Linked DNA regions of Homo sapiens: all the other regions are linked to region 3. The links are contacts of gene promoters, found by promoter capture Hi-C in blood cells and fetal thymus (Javierre and others, 2016). All regions are on one chromosome and are shown on one strand. Each heading gives the region's core, a stretch centred on a gene start or on the middle of the fragment in contact. The rest is flanking DNA. Distances are from core to core; before and after follow the strand shown. Region 1 overlaps SFSWAP (splicing factor SWAP). Region 2 has its middle 38 kb from the start of LINC02414. Region 3 holds the start of STX2 (syntaxin 2).

What was found. Contacts are between HindIII fragments. The CHiCAGO score rates a contact against its expected background, and 5 or more counts as called.
Region 1: a contact is called between a fragment that was not itself captured here and the fragment with the promoter of STX2 in region 3, in 4 of 17 cell types (erythroblasts, endothelial precursors, monocytes and 1 more). The highest score is 6.4, in erythroblasts.
Region 2: a fragment that was not itself captured here is called in contact with the fragment with the promoter of STX2 in region 3 in 1 of 17 cell types (monocytes); the score reaches 5.0 in monocytes.

The regions. Positions count from the first base shown.
Region 1 is chr12:131,775,346-131,780,040 of GRCh38, forward strand. SFSWAP (splicing factor SWAP) reads left to right here. Exons shown (of 18, transcript NM_004592.4): 14 at 2,720-2,985. Among named protein-coding and RNA genes, the nearest start is that of MMP17, 51 kb to the right of the region's middle. The HindIII fragment of the contact is 4,700 bases long and covers 299-4,695 here.
Region 2 is chr12:131,607,688-131,612,071 of GRCh38, forward strand. No RefSeq gene overlaps it. Among named protein-coding and RNA genes, the nearest start is that of LINC02414, 38 kb to the right of the region's middle. RefSeq lists an enhancer at 1-147. The HindIII fragment of the contact is 180 bases long and covers 2,342-2,521 here.
Region 3 is chr12:130,836,472-130,840,923 of GRCh38, forward strand. STX2 (syntaxin 2) reads right to left here and starts at 2,779. Exons shown (of 11, transcript NM_194356.4): 1 at 2,599-2,779. The coding sequence starts at 2,628. RefSeq lists silencers at 2,343-2,402, 2,473-2,982. The HindIII fragment of the contact is 18,553 bases long and covers 1,777-4,452 here.

The DNA of each region.
Region 1 (4,695 bases), core at 1,399-3,898, 940 kb after region 3:
CAGCAGCTCTGACTTCCCGAACACTCACAGGTGCCCGTGTTGAGGTTCCCAATGGCGTCTTTCAGCCCCTGGGCCGGCTTGCTTTCTGCGCAGCGTGTGCTCCTGATGTAGAGGCCGTGGATACTGGCATTTTTTTAGTGCATCAGCTGATTTCTCTGGTGTCCACCCAGGGCTCGCCTCAGAGGATGTGCTCAGCTCGCAAACCTGTGTTCTTTGCTCTTTGCAGAATGGAAGCCCTCTCCCTTTCGGTGTGTATGGGAGAGGCCATAGCTAGGATGTTGAGCCTCTGAAGTTGTAAAGCTTACTACCTTTTTATTTATTGTATGTTTAATTTAAAGGATCATTTAGCATTGCTTGTGGGCAAATCCTGACTAATGCCAGAGTGGGGGTGTTCTTGGATATAGAGCTTGCTTTGTCATTGGACGTTTGTGTGTTAGAATTATGTAAGCAATAAAATATTTTAGCTGGGCACGGTGGTTCACGCCCGTAATCTCAGCACTTTGGGATGCTGAGGTGTGCAGTTCACTTGAGGCCAGGAGTTTGAGACCAGCCTGGCCAAAATAGCAAAACCCTTTCTCTACTAAAAATACAAAAAAAAAAAAAAAAATTAGCTGAGCATGATGGCACATGCCTGTAATCCCAGCTACTCAGGAGGCTGAGGCACAAGAATCACTTGAGGCCGGAAGGCGGAGGTTGCGGTGAGCTGAGATCACGCCACTGCACTCCACCCCGGCAACAGAGCAAGACTCTGCCTCAAAACAAACAAAAATAATAAAATATTTAAAAGTTTGACCTGAAAAATATTGTTACACTTAACAGAATTTTAAATGAGAAAGACCTTTTTGATAAGAACTGTCCCACAGTAAAGTGGATTTTTTTGCCAAAATGTCCCTGGAGATAATTTAGGCAGAGACTTAAAGATGAACCTCATAGCGGCCATCAGATCCCAAGGAGGAATTCATCCCTGCCCTCTTGCCCGCCGCACACCCACAACCAGGGAGGGGCATTAGAGAGCACAGTGTAAACGGAAACAGCAAGGAGGCTGAACAGAGGGCTGAGAAATCACCGTGCCATCATAAAGCAGCCAGCTCAAGTGGAAACTCATCTTAAATTGGGGCCTGCCCCACCAGGGCTCTGCTGAATTGCTTTTGATCTCAAAGCCAAAGCAAGAAGCATAACTGTAGAAGAATCGTTTCTACAGTGTTTTCCCGCAGCCAGTTGGCCTTGCCACAGCGGACCTAAGGAGAGGAAAGAAGGGAGGGAAGCCCCCTTACCACTTTGCCTTTCACAGATGCCGTCCTGCGCACACTGCCGCGGGCTGGGCTGGAGCTCTCCCCGGGGAGCAGCTGGGGGCAGCCTGGGAGACTGGGTCCCACCCCAGCACCTAACCTGAATTTCTTCGAGGCACAAAGGATAAATTGCAGATTTTTCACTGTGTCTAAAGGTGTGAAATGTTTAACAGCTATAATTTAAAATTCACTTGAAGTGAGGAGAGAGTGAGCTTTCTGGGTAAAGAGGGGCAGGCTGCAGGCCTATGCTGTTGAAGGGTGCTGTCTCCTGATCTGGTTCCGATGCGCTGTGGTGGAAATGTGTCAGCATGCATTGAAGATTCATATGCTCTTCTGTATGTATGTAACACTCAGATGGAGAGGTTTTAAAACATCAAAGGGGAGCCTAGACCTTCTTTAAAAATTATTGTCAGAGTAGTGCCGATACTCATTTAAAAACCTAACATCGGAGGTTTGAGGAATCTCTCCTCTGGTAGTTAAAACTGTTTTTTTTGTTTTTCCTTAAGAACTATTTTTTTTTATTATACTTTAAGTTTTAGGGTACATGTGCACAACGTGCAGGTTAGTTACATATGTATACATGTGCCATGTTGGTGTGCTGCACCCATTAACTCATCATTTAACGTTAGGTATATCTCCTAATGCTATCCCTCCCCGCTCACCCCACCCCACAACAGGCCCCGGTGTGTGATGTTCCCCTTCCTGTGACCATGTGTTCTCGTTGTTCAGTTCCCACCTATGAGTGAGAACATGCGGTGTTTGGTTTTTTGTCCTTGGTGATAGTTTGCTGAGAATGATGGTTTCCAGCTTCATCCATGTCCCTACAAAGGACATGAACTCATCATTTTTTATGGCTGCATAGTATTCCATGGTGTATATGTGCCGCATTTTCTTAATCCAGTCTATCATTGTTGGACGTTTGCGTTGGTTCGAAATCTTTGCTATTGTGAAGAGTGCCACAATAAACATACGTGTGCATGTGTCTTTATAGCAGCATGATTTACAATCCTTTGGGTATATACCCAGTAATGGGATGGCTGGGTCAAATGGTATTTCTGGTTCTAGATCCCTGAGGAATGGCCACACTGACTTCCACAATGGGTGAACTAAAAAGGAACGTATTTTTTCCCAGCGTAGCATCTCTAATACTCTAATACTGTGCTCCTCTTGTTGGCTCCGGCTGTCCACAGCCTGGGGGCTGGGAAGAGAGTGCTGCCTGTGGAAATGCTCGGGAACCAGAGGGTTCACTTTCTCCTTTTGCATCCTGGGAGGTGACAAGGAGGTCACTCTGGATAGCCACAGGAGGAGACTTTCTAAGAGATGGTTGCTGTGTTTGTTGGTGTGAGGGGCCCAAAGTTGAAATTTTATAGATATACATCTTCAATGTTCTGTTTTCCCTGTTAACACCCAGATTTTCCTTTTATTCTTAGGAATCCAGCACTACGCCCTGCCCTCTACTGACTGGAGGCAGGCCTCTGCCTACTTTAGAAGTTAAACCACCCGATAGGCCTTCGAGCAAAAGCAAAGATCCACCGAGAGAAGAAGAGAAAGAAAAGAAAAAGAAAAAGCACAAAAAAAGATCTCGAACAAGATCACGTTCTCCCAAGTACCATTCGTCATCCAAGTCCAGGTCTAGATCACACTCAAAAGCAAAGCATTCTCTTCCCAGTGCCTATCGGACAGTGCGGCGGTCGAGGTGGGTGTGAAGGGGGCAGCACCTCTGGTACCCTCATGACCCCCATGTCCTTCACAGGACACCCAGTAGAGCTAGGTAGAACGTTTAAAATCAGTGCCGCTTTCATTAAGCAGACGCGTGTATGCATGTGCATGTGTGCCCTGCAAGTCCAAGTAAGATCTTTTTCAGATTTTTGTTTGTTTTATACTTAACTTTTTCTTTTTTGAGACAGAGTTTTGTTCTTGTTGCCCAGGCTAGAGTGCAGTGGTGCGATCTTGGCTCACTGCAACCTCCGCTTCCCAGGTTCAAGTGATTCTCCTGCCTCAGCCTCCTGAGTAGCTGGGATTACAGGTGCCCACCACCACGCCTGGCTAATTTTTGTATTTTTAGTAGAGACGGGGTTTCACCGTGTCGGCCAGGCTGGTCTTAAACTCCTGACCTCAGGTAATCCACCCACCTTGGCCTCCCAGAGTGCTGGGATTACAGGCCTAAGCCACCGCGCAGGCCTATACTTAACTTTTCAAAGTTCATAAACTACTGCCAGGTTTTTAAAAATTGGTTTGTTTAAATTCTAATGGTTCCTGGAAGCAAGCCTACCACATTTGCCGATTGTGTGAAAGATTCACAGGGTGGTGTGCTGGGGGTCTTTTGTTTTATTTGTATAAGTGAAGTTTCCCATGCTAATTTGTCTCAAATGTGTAAAGTTGCAAGACAGGAGAACTCTTTAGCACTGGTTCTGGGTTTGGATTCTCTGCTCTGCACACGCACTCACCGGCACCGCACTCTGCACATACACTCACCGGTGCCACACTCTGCACACACTTCGTGTGGCACCGGTGAGCGTGTGTGCAGAGATGCAGCGACGGTGAGTGTGTGTGAAGAGGGCAGCGCGGATGAGTGTGTGTGAAGAGGGCGGCGCGGGTGAGCGTGTGTGAAGAGGGCGGCGCGGGTGAGTGTGTGTGAAGAGGGCGGCGCGGGTGGGTGTGTGTGAAGAGGGCGGCGCTGGTGCAGAATGTTTCCTCTCCACCCTCCCTCCAGGAGTCACTATTAAACCAAAGGCCTTCTTGATGAGGAGCCAGTTTTTCAGAAAGCAGGTTAACATTTCTGGCAGCAGAAATTAAAAATGTAAAAACATTTAAGAGTCACAGAATTTACATCTTGGTGAAAACCACTTTTTAAAAACAAAACAGTGGCTGACCTACAGGAGGTTGGCACAGCTTGCCCTGTTTTCAGAACCCCGTTACACCTTGGGTTCGCTGCTGAACACTGGCTGACTCTCCTCGGTTTCTCTAACGCCGCACTGACTGTGCTCATCTAGTTTTTCTTCTGGAATTGGTGTTAGCTCTTATGTTTCTGTGGGAAAAATACACATGCCTTGGGAGCTTTACGGGCTTTTTAAGTGTAATTTTACACATTTGCCTCTCTGAATATATCCTAAAAACAATATGCTTGCTTTCTTTACTTATTTATTTATTTATTCATTTATTTATTTAGAGACGGAGTTTTTGCTCTTGTTTCCCAGGTGGGAGTGCAATGGCACGATCTTGGCTCACTGCAACCTCTGCCTCCCAGGTTCAAGTGATTCTTCTGCCTCAGCCTCCCAAGTAGCTGGGATTACAGGCATGTGCCACCACGCCCAGCTAATTTTGTTTTTTTAGTAGAGATTGGGTTTCACCATGTTGGCCAGGCTGGTCTCGAACTCCTGACCTCAGGTGACCCACCCACCTCAGC
Region 2 (4,384 bases), core at 1,182-3,681, 770 kb after region 3:
TATTCCTGTACTGCCTGTGTCTTCATTGTTTTGAATTTCTGTTTCATTTTCTATTTTTAAGCCTGTCTTGAGTCAGTTGAAATCAGATTAGCTGTCCTCTGAAGTTCCTTCCAGTTCTGAGAATCTGTGATTTCATTTAATATTAAACAGACTTGTGAGCAAACATGAAGGATGCGGAGGTATTTTATGAACTATAAACATACCAACACCAGTATGAGATTACTAATTCAACCTTTGTGTGTCTTGTGTATTCACACGGAGTACAGGTGCCTCAGGGAAGGGACCCAATGGTGTTGGGTCACCGGTTTCAGTGCATGCTCAGTATGACAGCCATAAGATCTCACTTTGCATGCAGTGGCTGGTCGGGTGCGGTCATCCGTGGTCACACTGCACCAGGGATGCCTTCAGGAAGGCTGTTCAGACCTTACAGAGGCATCTTCCCCTACACACAGAATTCCTTTTCTTTCTCACACACATGGTCCTTCAAGTTGTTTTCCAGACTTTTTTGTGTATAGGCCACGGATTCCAGCAGTGGTGGAGGGTGAGTCACTGTCACCGGTGGTAATTTATCATAGTTACCATGTTGGGAGGTTAGGAGGGGCTGGTTGTCATTCATCCATCCTCAGATTGTTTTTGTGATTTCTCTCAACATCAGTAGGTTGGGGTTTTTTTGATGAATTGTGTTTGTTTGTTTGTTTTTCTACCTTCCAAAAGTCTTTGTGGGATACTTCATTTTGGCTCTTTCATGTGTCTGGATGGTCTGACATTTTTGTTTTATTACAAAATTGAGCGGTAGAAACTGTAAATGAAGAATTTCACTCTTAGAAATGTCCAGCAAAGATCATTTAAATAGGTGAATAAAGAATTGAAGGTCCTCAGTTAGTAACATTACAGTCCTAGCATAAATTCTTCCTTAATTTTCATCTATGATGGGTTAGCTCTGATTAAAAATACCACTGGGGCTTGCGATTTTTACTTCTCTTCAGTTGCATTCGATATCAATTTTGTTTTAATTGTTTTATTTACATTTCATAGGAAATCAATGCAATGGACAAATGAGAGAGAAGCAAAAACACATTAATGGCATTTGTTTTTGCCATGTGACCATTTGAAGCAATTCTGGGAATAAACAGTTTAAAATCTGTTACTGTTTAGAATTAAATACTTTATATTTGGCATGTACTGCCTTCGTCTGATTTCTGCGTTGTTTCCATGGAAACGCGCATAATTTATGTGAAAGCGCCACACCATGTGTGATCACTTATGTTTAAGCCCAGTTTGGGATATTGTCTCTCGTATCCCCACACCTCCTCACCACTATTTTGTCTTTGATATGGAGCAGGTGTTGGCGAATGCAGCAACATCACTAAGGCAAGTTCCACCATAGACAACGCAGATATTTTGCTTGGAGAGTTTCTGCTTTTAAAATCTTTGGGGGAGCCAAGCCAACACCCCATGTTCACTCTGACACGTGGCTTCTGTGGTTCTGCGGGAACAGAAACACGCAGTTCCAGGACGGGCCTCCAGGGGGAGGTTGGGGCCGCCCTTCCTGCTCAGCCTGCAACCGACTCCTCCCGCCAGACAGGCTGTGGTCAGAGACACAACAGGAAAATCAAATTTGTTGATTTTCCAAACAAAAAGAAGTTGGTTTGTTTTTTGTATTTTACAGGTTTTTTTTCTACTTCGATAGCATTTTGGTGGTTTTTGTTACATGCATGAATTGTGTGGTGGTGAATTCTGAGATTCTAGTGCCCCCGTCACCCAAGGGGTGTCCATTGTCCTAGCGTGTAGGTCTTTTTATCCCTAGCCCCATCCCGCCCTCCTCCTTCTGAGCCTCTAGAGCCCATTACATCACTCCGTACGCCTTCGCGTAGTCAGCCTAGCTCCCTCTGACAAGTGAGAACATGTGGTTTTGGTTTTCCACGCCTGTGTTCCTTCACTTAGAATAATGCCCCCAGCTCCGTCCGAGTTGCTGCCCATCGGCTACTGAATGGATAAAGAAAACGTGGTGTCTATACACCAAGGGGTACTACTCAGCCATTAACATGAATGCAATACTGTCTGTTCCAGCAGCTTTTTGAGGAAGGCTAGCGCACCTAGCTAATCCATCTGAAGCCTAATGCTGTGCTCTGTTGTCTCAAAAATCAGTACTTGGAGGCAGGAATGTGGCTGCCTGCAGCAAACCATGAGAGACTCTGGGGACCTCGCTGTGGGGTTTTGGTGGGAAGGCGGCCCCAAGCCATCCCTGGCTCCTTGGCAGCAATGCAGGGCATCCCAGGGAAGCGGCTGGTGACGCTGGCACCTTTGATCATGAGAGAAGGGCGGTGGGGCCATCATGGAAAGCTTTAGAGAACTCAGCTACAAAACAGGAGATGTGGGCCTTGTGTTCCCATAGCCTTAAGAGCGGCATGAAAGAAACAGCCGTGGCTTCACCTGCCCAACGGGTAGGGAACAAGGCATGAAAAGACAACATTGTAGCCCTGTTGGTGGAGGCCCTCTCTGTCTTCGTCCACGAATGTGAAGCTTCTGATGGTCAACCTCAGAAATTAATCAAGAGCCTGCAGAGCTGCAGTGGGACAGGAGTGTCCCCCGTTTTATAGCCCATGGCAACACTGGGTCCGTTGGAGCAGGTTCGTCTGAAGGAGCTGGAGAGTGGCTGCCCGCAGTGGTCCCAGATCCCACCTGTCTATGAGGAGGCCACACCCTCCAGGGCACAGTTGACTGGACCTTTGATGACCTCTGACACAAGCAGGCCTCTCCCTGGCCACCTGGCCTGGGCGCCAAGAGTCTTGTTTCGGGTTGAGCCTGCCTCGTAAGCAAGATATGAGGAATCTCGGGGCTGTGTGCTGGGTGGGGAGCACCTTCTGCCTCATGGACAGAGGGGCAGAGAAGTCAGACCAGCAGAGGAAAGATGACAAAGCCACCTGCAAGGGAGAGCGGGGGCAGCCGGCCTCCTCTTCCTGGCACCCTCTCTTTTCTTGCCTTTTCTGTCATTAAACTTTCCTGGTTTTCCTCCCATTTCTCTGGACACCCCTTGGGCCCGCTTGCCAGCTCCTCTGCCTTCTTGTTTAAACAGCATCCCTTCCCACACCGTAGCCTGCTGGATAGAGTCCTGGGTCCCTAAGATGGGACAGGATGGTGACACCTGGCAGGAAGCGGGCAATGTCCCTACACACAGTTCCAGCTCCAGAGTGGAGGCTCAGGGATTTTGCCCAGGGGAGGGTAAAAGTGAGGGCTCCAGGTCTCTTCCCAAGGAAACTAACTTCATCTGCAGCACAGTATGGGGAAGTTGAAGCCCAAGGATGCTCTCAAGAACAGCGGAGGTGTGGCGGAAGGCGCCAGTGGACAGCAGATTCCTGGAGATGTGGGCCGCACTGCAGGCTGGCTAGTTTGCAGGGTCGGGCTGTGGGCTGTTTCTTGGAACAGGAGCGGCATGTGGGCAGGGCAGAGCCTCCAAGGCACCTGCTACAGCAGCAGCAGCCTTCACAGGGCAGGCTGGAGTGCCTGTGGAATGAGGGCATGGTGCCTGCGGCTCGGGTGTGCACAGTGGAGATGGGAGGGAGATAGTGTCTGGGCCAGGAAGACGGAGACGAAGCCGTCTCCTCTATTTCACTCATTAAAAATAACTCTGGGTCTCAGTTCCTCTGCAGCCAACCAGTCTTGGTGCCTTGGGTAGTTGGGTGTTTGGGGTCTAAATGAGCCTCTGCTTTCTGCAGACCTAGCCCTGGGGCTCAGCAGAGCGGAGGCCCCACAGTTCATGCTGACTGTGCCTCACGTGGGCTGGGGCAGAGAGAAGCCAACCAGAGACCCTTCAGCCACACGGGGTGTGTGGGGTTCCATCCAGCCTGCACCCAGCTGCCCGGACACGGCTCTGACGTGGGCTGAGTCCACACGTGGTGTGTGGGGTTCCATCCAGCCTGCACCCAACTGCCCGGAAACGGCTCTGACGTGGGCTGAGTCCACTCAGGGGTCCTTTGTGCCAATCCATTGTACAGGCAGGGGTGCCTGCTCCCCCTGCCCAGCATGGCCCCACCCACCTGCACAAGAAGGCCCAGGCTCCCTGTGCCCTGGCTCTGTGCCCCCCAGGCCCTGTCCTCCCTGCAGCCATGCCACATGATCCATGGTGCACTTGTTTCCGGCTCTGTGCCCCACCAAATGGCCCACCAGCCCAGAGGAAACCCAGGGCCACGTATTCCAAATCGTGATGGGGTGAGCCTGTGGTGCTGTCGAGACCCTGGAAAAATCCCCTGGGGTGGGGTCCTGCCCTCGGTCTCCACCCCACCTGGCCGCTGACATCGTGGGGATCCTGCCCCTTCCCCACTCCGCTGTGAGCCGCCCACCCGCTCCTTCCACCTGCCTGAGTCTTGAGTCACGACACTTTGCA
Region 3 (4,452 bases), core at 1,529-4,028:
CCATGTTGCCCAGGCTGGTCTTGAACTCCTGAGCTCAAATGATCTGCCCACCTCAGCCTCCCAAAGTGCTGGGACTACAAGTGAAAGCCACTGTGCCCAGCCAGAAGGCTGCTTTTTATAACTCCCTAAAAACAAAAAATCTGGTAAACATTAATCACACTTATAATTACATAGCACTTGCTCCCTCCCACCTTCTCCCAGAGCTTCACACATTAGATAATTTTATGCTTCATAACTCCCTCTATGAGGTGGACAAGAGAGATACCACTGTCCCCATTTCACGTACAAGAAAAAGTTTTGAGAGATTTAAAAATTATTTGCCCAAGATGAGAAACTCCATGAGTGGAAACTTCCACGGATATACTCTCTGACTGCTCAGCTGCTGTGTCTAAAGCAGGATGGTATTGAAGTAGATGAGCTGACTTCTAGCTCTGCCGTTCTAGAACAAAACTGATTGACATGTTCTACTGTTTCAGGAAGGGTTTGGATATATAGAAACTGAGTGACAAATAATTGCCTTATTTGCTTTTTGCTATTCAAGCCAAGAAAACGTACTTTCTCACGATTCCCCAACATATAAATTTGGCTGTATTTTGCCAAAATAGTCACAGCTCTCACGTTCAATGACATTGAGCTTTTTTTTTTTTTTTTTATGAGACAATGTCTCACTCTGTCACCCAGGCGGGAGTGCAGTGGCATGGCACAATCATGGCTCACTGCAGCCTCTATCTCCTGGGCTCAAGGAATCCTCCTAGCTTAGCCTCCTGAGTACCAAGGACTACAGGTGCGAGTCACACCTGGATAGTTTTTTTGTGCGTGCTTTGTTTTGTTGGTTTTTCTGAAACAGAGTCTCTTTCTGTTGCCCAGACTGGAGTACAGTGGCACAATCTCGGCTTTCTGCAACCTCCGCCTCCTGGATTCAAGCGATGCTCCTGCCGCAGCCTCCAGAGTAGCTGGGACTACAGGTGTGCGCCATGACATCCGGCTATTTTAGTAGAAACGGGGTTTTGCCATGTTGGCCAGGCTAGTCTCCAACTCCTGACCTCAAGTGGTCCACCCAACTCGGCCTCCCAAAGTGCTGGGATTACAGGCATGAGCCACTGCGACTGGCCTCCTGCTAATTTTTTAATTTTTTTCGAGAAACAGTGTCTCCCTGTGTTGCCCAAGCTGGTCTCCAATACCTGGGCTCAAGTGATGCCCCCACCCTGATCTCCCAGACTGCTGGGATTACAGGAGTGAGCCACAGCTTTTCTTCATTAAATAAATACCTGAGCTCCTACTACACGGCACTGAAAGATAATCCATCGGGCAAGACAACACAACTATAATTTGCTGTGTTTAAGATGATATTGATCTGCGGAACACAGGGAATATTTGTCCATTAATAAAAAAGGAAAAATCACCGTGAAGAAACTTCCTTGGAATGAATATAAAGCATAATTTCCATGATCCTAAGGATGAAATCATTGCCTTTCTCAACCAGAGCTCCTCATCTGAACCACAGAACACAGATAATGATTTAAGTGGCTCTTTTCTCTATTCTCCCACTCGGGGGTACATAACAGCTCCATTCTAGCAGCAGAGGAGAGAGAATAATTCATTACATGCAGTGGGTGTCGTAGGGCTGTGGGCCTTAGCACCCCTGTTCTGAGGCTGCCAACAATTTAGAGACCAGAGGCTCTATCTGTGCACACACGTAGCATGAATTAGTACCTGTATTGTAAAGGGAAAAAGTCATAACTACTTCTGCTGGCCTAAGCCGTCCTGGGTTAGACAAGCTTGGAAAGTGCACGACCATCACTATCATTCCGCTGTCACTGCACCATGCACAGTCCTGTCACCTTTACACGTGTAGAATGCATCGAAATCCTTCCAAAATTTTTAGTGACCTGCTTTTCCCTTGCTAAAGTAAACAGTAACTTGCTGTGTGCCCGGCTGCTGGGCGCGTAAGGTGCGTTCAGAGTCAACACACGGTCCCAGTTTCCAAAGCAAACTACTGGGAGATCAGACACAAGCTGCTGTTCGCGCTCGCCCCACCCCAAGCACCCAGCACTCTAAGGTGCCCACATTTCACACCCATCTGTTGCCTCCCGCTTGGTGCACAGTCCTTTGTGAAGCCCCAGGGATAAAGCAGCGACCAAGAGGACCCGGCCTGCTCCCCGGGGCTGACGCCAGCTGCGGGGACCCCGTGGGGCGGACCACAGTTAGGCCAGTGGGCTCCGGCTGGGTAAGCGCCAGATACAATCCGCCAAGCGGAGTGACGGACAGGGAGCCACGCTCGAAGAGGGGGTCGAGGCCGGGACCTTCCCCGCTCCCTCCTCCTGCCCCAACCCGCCCTGAGGACTCCGCCCAGGAAGCCCTGGGGACCCCGCCCGGAGCCCCCACCCTAGGACTCCCGGGACCCCCGCCCTGGGGACCCCACCAGCAGTCCCCGCTCAGGACTCCCTGAGACCCTGCCCGCAGCCCCCGCCCCAGAACGCCGGAGATCCCCGCCCTGGGGACCCTCCCGGAGCCCCGCCCAAGACGCCCCGAGCCCCCGCCCGCCCTCCAGACGCCGCCCCGGCCGGGCCTGAACCGCTACCCGCGGCTGCCGCTCACCGCCGTCAGGTCTGGCAGCCGGTCCCGCATCCCCGCCGGCCGGGCAGCGCGCCCCGCCGCTCAAGCCTGTCCCGAGCTGCCTCCGGCCGGGCCTCGGGCTCTCCGGTCTCCGCCTCAGGCCCCGCGGTCCCGGCCCGGCGCCAGCAGCCCTCCCTGGAGCCGGCGCTGCCACGGCAACCGCGCCCCGCGCGCTCTGCGCATGCCCGGCCCGCGCCGCGCCCCGCACCCACCCACACGGCGGCAGCGCTTTCCAGCGGGAGCCCGGAGGGGCGGGGCCTGGGGGCGGGGCCTAGGCGGGGAGGGGCGGGGTCCGGCCGAGCCCCAGGCTGGCAGTTCCGCTACACGTGCTGTTTGTCCCTTGATCTGCTTTTATGCTTTCACACTCATTGTTTTATTTATCAAAATATAGAGCATTCAACGAATAGTGACAAAAGAGCAAAGCTCCCGGAATGTGCTGGGTGCAGCTTTGGGTAATACATATGCCGAACCTTCTCTTTAAGGGTCCACGCGCAGCCTCGGGTGTGAATGAAGGAGAAGAGATCGTGTACCACACATGATGCTTACGGAGCATAACACGGCAGGGGGCGGTAACGGGAAGAGCGTCCGCAGGCCCAGCCCTGGGATACCATTCTGGCAGGAGAAACAGGCAATACAGACACAGACAAATAAATGATAGATGAGAAAAGAAAGTAAGGGCATGGGCACGGAACTGGCAGAGAGGTCGTCATGAAGGTGCAGGAGCTTAGGTGAACTACCCAGGTTGGGGGAACAGTCCCCAAGACCATTATCACCTCTGACACCAACGGCAAATTCTGGCGGTTTCCAAAACCACCTTCAAGTTCCATAATTTGCTAGAAGGAATCACAGAATACACTAAAAACTACTGTACTCACAACTATGGTTTCTTAGCAGGAAAATGATACGGATTAACATCAGCCAAGGAAGAAGGGCAGAGGGGGAGTCTGGGGATTACGGCGTGCAGCTTCAAGGTCCTCCCGTGGTCCTCTCCCTGTGTAGTCAGGCCTCATTACTTGCCCTGCACTGATGTGTGGCCTTACACACGAAGTACTGCCAGCCAGGGAAGCTCACTTGAGCCACAGTGTGCAGAACGTTTACTGGGCTCCATTGCATGTGCATGATTGATTGATTGTTTGATTGCTTTCATGCTTGATCTCAGCCTCTTGGTTAAGTGATATCCATGTAACCCTAAGCCCCCACCATAAATCACACTGTTACTCTCTGGCTAGCCGAAGACTCCCAGGCAAACAAAGATTGCCTTCCAGGAGGAGAAGGCAAGGCCAGATTTGTTTTTAAACAAGGTTAAAGTCTTTACTGCCTCCTGGAGGAGGTGGCTTTGGTCTGACCAGAAGGCAGCGCTAAGAAATCTGCTTGAGAGCAACAGGCTACACATTAAAAAACAGGACGTTTTGGACTTGGTTCTAGGTGTGATGTGGTTCTGTTACCCGATGGAAGGTCTTGACAGCCAGTTGTCCAGGTGAGTGTGGTGGCGGGCACCTGTAATCCCAGCTACTCAGGAGGCTGATGCATGAGAATTGCTTGAACCCGGGAGGTGGAGCTTGCAGTGAGCCAAGATCGCACCACTGCACTCCAGCCTGGACAGTAAAGCGAGACTCCGTCTCCAAAAAAAAAAAAAAGATATGTTTTTTCTCTCCATATCCTGAACTTCCCCACCAGAATGCCTCCTGGACCCCGCAACAGGCAAGTGCTTTTCTTTCGGCCTTCTTGCCTCTGCCACCACCATTTTAATTCTCCCTCTCTGGTAAATACTGGGCCCTCCCTCGTTTCTCCCTCTCTCCCAGTGGATTTTTCAAAAACATATGATAATATTGGCAG